Regions from separate parts of the Homo sapiens genome. Here region 2 is linked to region 1. Evidence: promoter capture Hi-C in human tissues and cell types (Jung and others, 2019). All regions are on one chromosome and are shown on one strand. The core of a region is centred on a gene start or on the middle of the fragment in contact, and the rest is flanking DNA. Distances in the headings are between cores, read along the strand shown. Region 1 holds the start of CLCA1 (chloride channel accessory 1). Region 2 overlaps CLCA4-AS1 (CLCA4 antisense RNA 1).

The links. Contacts are between HindIII fragments. The study calls those that stand out against the background at their distance.
Region 2: a contact is called between a fragment that was not itself captured here and the fragment with the promoter of CLCA1 in region 1, in 2 of the 25 tissues and cell types used here (ovary and pancreas).

Annotation. Positions count from the first base shown.
Region 1 is chr1:86,467,514-86,470,289 of GRCh38, forward strand. CLCA1 (chloride channel accessory 1) reads left to right here and starts at 1,414. Exons shown (of 14, transcript NM_001285.4): 1 at 1,414-1,620. The coding sequence starts at 1,459. The HindIII fragment of the contact is 10,852 bases long and covers 1-2,776 here.
Region 2 is chr1:86,621,300-86,624,075 of GRCh38, forward strand. All of the region lies in intron 4 of CLCA4-AS1 (CLCA4 antisense RNA 1), which reads right to left. Among named protein-coding and RNA genes, the nearest start is that of CLCA4, 76 kb to the left of the region's middle. The HindIII fragment of the contact is 3,991 bases long and covers 1-2,776 here.

The sequences.
Region 1 (2,776 bases), core at 164-2,663:
CTAGATATAAAGGGTATTCAATTAGGAAAAGAGGAAGTCAAATTGTCCCTGTTTGCAGATGACATGATTGTATATCTAGAAAACCCCATTGTCTCAGCCCAAAATCTCCTTAAGCTGATAAGCAACTTCAGCAAAGTCTCAGGATACAAAATCAATGTACAAAAATCACAAGCATTCTTATACACCAACAACAGACAAACAGAGAGCCAAATCATGAGTGAACTCCCATTCACAATTGCTTCAAAGAGAATAAAATACCTAGGAATCCAACTTACAAGGGACGTGAAGGACCTCTTCAAGGAGAACTACAAACCACTGCTCAAGGAAATAAAAGAGGATACAAACAAATGGAAGAACATTTCATGCTCATGGATAGGAAGAATCAATATCGTGAAAATGGCCATACTGCCCAAGGTAATTTACAGATTCAATGCCATCTCCATCAAGCTACCAATGCCTTTCTTCACAGAATTGGAAAAAACTACTTTAAAGTTCATATGGACAAGATGAAATTAATGCTTATCACCATCTGAAGACCAAATGAATTTATGAACGAAGAGATATTTCAAGTATTTCAATACAAGAAAATGGGGGGCCAATTTGAGGTTCCACCTGAGGTTTGGCAAATTGAAAGAATATACACAGCCACTGACAGCCCATAATTCATGTTCCTAGGGACATTTAGTTTCAGCAAAATAATTTAATGATGTTAATTGGAATTTTATTGACTGGTAGGAGCTATGCAATAGAGAAAGCAGAAATCTGATGAGGAACTTGGAGTATGCTTTGCAAAGTAAGATATACATTTTATCTTTACTCTCCATTATAAAATAGTCAATAATATCTACATCACTTGCTAATGCTTTTGGTACAAATGGATGTGGAATATAATTGAATATTTTCTTGTTTAAGGGGAGCATGAAGAGGTGTTGAGGTTATGTCAAGGTAAACAAAACCACCATTGTGGTAAAGACCACCATGAGGGATAACTGAATATATGGCTTACAAAATGTTTACTGAATAAGCAGAACAGTCTGGATTTTCCTGGGCAGGAGGGGGTTGGGGGCTTTGGGTGGGTTGGTGTCCATGGCTTGGTAAACATTTCCAAGAAGTAAACAAACCTATCAGCGGCCAAGCTGCTTGTCACCTGTGAGTGCTTCCAAGGAACCGGATGTGGGCTCCCCCACCCTTACCCCAGCATCTGGCACAGCTGAAGGCAGATGGAAATATTTACAAGTACGCAATTTGAGACTAAGATATTGTTATCATTCTCCTATTGAAGACAAGAGCAATAGTAAAACACATCAGGTCAGGGGGTTAAAGACCTGTGATAAACCACTTCCGATAAGTTGGAAACGTGTGTCTATATTTTCATATCTGTATATATATAATGGTAAAGAAAGACACCTTCGTAACCCGCATTTTCCAAAGAGAGAAATCACAGGGAGATGTACAGCAATGGGGCCATTTAAGAGTTCTGTGTTCATCTTGATTCTTCACCTTCTAGAAGGGGCCCTGAGTAATTCACTCATTCAGCTGAACAACAATGGCTATGAAGGCATTGTCGTTGCAATCGACCCCAATGTGCCAGAAGATGAAACACTCATTCAACAAATAAAGGTAAGTTCATAGTAATTATCCATACTTTTTTAAAAATAGCATAATGTTGTGATAGAGAGAACATGAGTGCCCTATTCCAGCTGCACGACACTGGCATGTATTTTTATGTCTAAGTCTCAGTTTCTTCATCTGTAAAATGGAAATAATAACAAGTTAACCATTAGGATTCTTGTGTCAGATAAGATAATGAATGCAATGCACATAACTCAGAGTGATATACTGTTGGCAACTGATAAATGATAAATTGATATGTACTGCTGTGGATTATGTCACTGAAAATTATTTAGTTCTATAGTAAGGCAGAGTCAGCTACATTTGACAGATATTGTGAGATGCACAGATCCTTTGCCTGATTTTACCCTTGGCACGAGTCAGACTCTCCTTTTATTCTCCTAATAGGAACCCCCTTCCCTGTGATCCTAAAAGGAGCCCCAGATGCAAATCTCTGATATAAGAACAACCCTGACCTTCTGATGGGAGAAAACCTTGCATTTTATCAGTCCCAATTCAAGGGATCCTTTCAGAGATTTCTTGCTACCTCTTATGTAGCAGAAGGGAAAGGAAGAAGACTTCCTGTCCTGGCAGGGGTATCTATACCATTGAAGAAGGTCTTGTACAACAACAAACAGCTAAAACTAAGAGGGAAATGCTTTATAAAAGACCGCCCTGGAATCTGGCTGTAACACATCCAGAGGCAGTGCTGTACTAGTAACAGTATTAGTCTGTAAAATGGGAATAATAATAATAAATATCTCCCTTATCAGATTTTGTGAGGATCAAAGTTTAAAATGCATGCATATAAAGGGAAGCTGGGTGGAGTATGTAAGAATACGGTGCAATACTTTGCATGTCTTCTGTTCATCTAAATTTATCTCAGAACTTTAAAAAATAACTTTAAAAATGCATGCATAGTGCCTGGTACATAGTAAGAGCTCAATAAATGGTGGATATAGTCATTGGCTCTCTCTAGATGGAAAATTAATAGAACAAGGGCCCAGAGGGATTTCCCCAGAGATCCACTGCTCTAAGCAGAGGCAAATATAGAAAGATAATGTTTGGAAAGAAAACCATCTCTACAGTGTGTGGTTAGAGAATTGCAGCAGTAGGGGATAGGGATAGGGAACAGAGTGGAGGGTGTCACTCACCATAAAGCTTA
Region 2 (2,776 bases), core at 156-2,655, 150 kb after region 1:
CAGATGTTACTGGCTGGCCTGTAGATATCACCAATGAACCCTGTGGGGATGTGTCACATGTGAACCCCCAAATTAACTGATATGTCAAGCACTCCATGCACATACTCCCACCACCACCACCATCATCAGCACCTTGCACTCCTCCACAGATGGCACCCCAGGTTCCCCTGAAGACAGTACATGTGCTCCCCTGAAGATGGCAAACATGAGCCTGCAAAGACAGTGCACAGATATCAACAGATAGCTCAACTCTGCTAAACGGGGAGAAGGTGCACAACTTTGATCACTCCAGATCACAGCCCTAGTGAGAGGAGGTGCCAGCTGGGCTTCCTGGGTCAAGTAGGGGCTCAGAAAGCTGTGAAACTCACTCATTCCTGCATCAGGACTTACTTCGGTCCTGGATGAATAATATTGAAGATATATGCTTAAAATATTCCTAACACCCAGATTTGTGCGTGTGTTTTCTTCCCCAAGAAAGCTATAAACAATGAAAATTTTGCTGTAAGCATCCCTGTGTCCTCTCTCCCTCTCTTCCTTCCCCTTCCCCCAAAACTAAAAAGAATGTTGACTGCCCATTTTTCTGTGACCAGCAGACTTTATCTATGCTCCCAATTCCAATTCCTTGTAAACATACTTTGTAAAATCCTATAAAATCCTGTCTCCTTTGCCATGCCACTGCAAGGTCATAAAGTAGATAAAACCTAAGCTGCAATTCCGGTTTTCCTCAAAATCTAAGACATGTCACAAAATAATTTACTGCCTTTGTTTCTCACTCTGGTAACATCTTCCCTCCGCATGTATTTCCCACCTTAAAGAGTTGAAAAGGCAACTGCATAATCTAACTCTGGCTACCTGTTTGGGACCCCTTCCACACTGTGGAAGCTTTGTATTTTCACTCTGCCCAATAAAGCCTATGTCTTTTTCTCTCTTTCGGTCCATGTCTCTATCACTCGCTGCGGGCAGCTGCCACACCAATTCTTTGGCATGGCTAAGGCAAGAACCTTTGGCATTACACTAGGAGAAGTAAATGGAAAGTTCTCACTACCTGGCCTGGTTTTATGGGATCAAGGGAAGGCATACAATCCTGACACTATCCCCCAAGAGGGAATAAGAACAGTAAGGGGATACATCAACTGAAATGATCTGAGACACCTCCAGATCTCTAGCCAGGCTGAATGGTGAAGATTGTTCTCTCGCAATGCCAGTAATCGAAGACTTGAGAAGTTTACTCCTTCTTCAAATGAGAAGGCAACAAGGCAAGGCTTCAAAGAACATAAAAAATCAAGGAAATATACCACCAAAATAATAATAATAAAGCTCCAGTGGCTGACCCCAAAGAAATAGAGATATATGAATTGCCTAAAAAGAATTCAAAATAATTATCTTTAAAAAGCTTAGTAAGCTACAAGAGGAAAAACTAATAGATCATGGTGGACAGGAGGCAGGACTAGATTGCAGCTCCCACACAGACAGAACAGTGTGTGGAGACTTGCATTGTGAACTTTTGCTCCAAAACTACTGCAGGAATAAACCAGAAAAGTTGAGAGAACCCACAGACCCTCTGAAGGAAGCAGACTGCTCCTGTAGGAGCAAGGAGACACCCCAAATACAGTGAGTGCCCAAGCTGTGGAAGTGGGAAAGGAGGATTGTCCATCTGCGAACACACACCCTCACTAGGGAACCTGAAGGTCTGGATCACAGGAGAAGATTCTTGCCTTACCTGGAGCTGAGTTAATTTAGAGAGTCAAGCTAAATACAGAGGTAGAGGAAGCAGCAGGAGAAGCCCTTTAGGCTCTCTAGGTCCCCTAGAGAGCCATTTCTGTCTTGTCCACAGAGGTCCTTGGAGAGGGCTGCCAGAGGTACTGGGAAAAGACCACAAAGAGAAGGAAATCTCCTGCTGAACTTTGTAACAATTCCAACCAAACACAAAGTTTTCTGGCCAGAACTCTGGGGAGGGCATGAATCCAGTATGCAGACTCCTCAGGTGGGAAGGCATGAAAGCCCTGCTTGCTTTCACACGTGGGAGGCTAGTAACCTGGGGCAAGTTCTCAGCCCTGCTCTTCCACTGTCTGGAAACAGAGTTGGTGTCTTTCGGGGGCTGGGGGCATGATGGAAGTGAGACCAGCCTTCTGGGTTGCTTGGGAGCTGGGTGAAGCCTGTGACTGCTGGCTTTCCCCTACTTCTCTGACAACCTGAATGACACAGCAGAGGCAGGCATAATCCTCCTAGGAACATCATTCCATTGACCTGGGAACCACAATTCCATCCCCCACAGCAGCCACAGCAATAGCCACCCAAGGAGAGTCTGAGCTCAGACACACCTAGCTCTGCCCCCACCTGATGGTCCTTCCTACTCACCCTGGTAGTTGAAGACTTCAGCATTCTATGAAGCCAGTATCTTCCTAGTACCAAAACCAAGAAAGAACATAACCAAAAGAGGAAACTACAGATCAATATCCCTGATGAACATAGATGCAAAAATCCTTAACAAAATACTAGCTAACTGAATCCAACAACATATCAAAAAGATAATCCACCATGATCAAGTGGGTTTCATACCAGGGATGCAGGGATGGTTTAATATATGCAAGTCAATCAATGTGATACACCACATAAACAGAATTAAAAACAAAAATCACATGATTACTCAATAGACACAGAAAAAGCATTTGACAAAATCCAGCATTCCTTTATCATTAAAACTCTCAGCAAAATCAGCATACAAGGGGCATACCTCAATGCAATAAAAGCCATCTAAGACAAACCCACAGCCAAC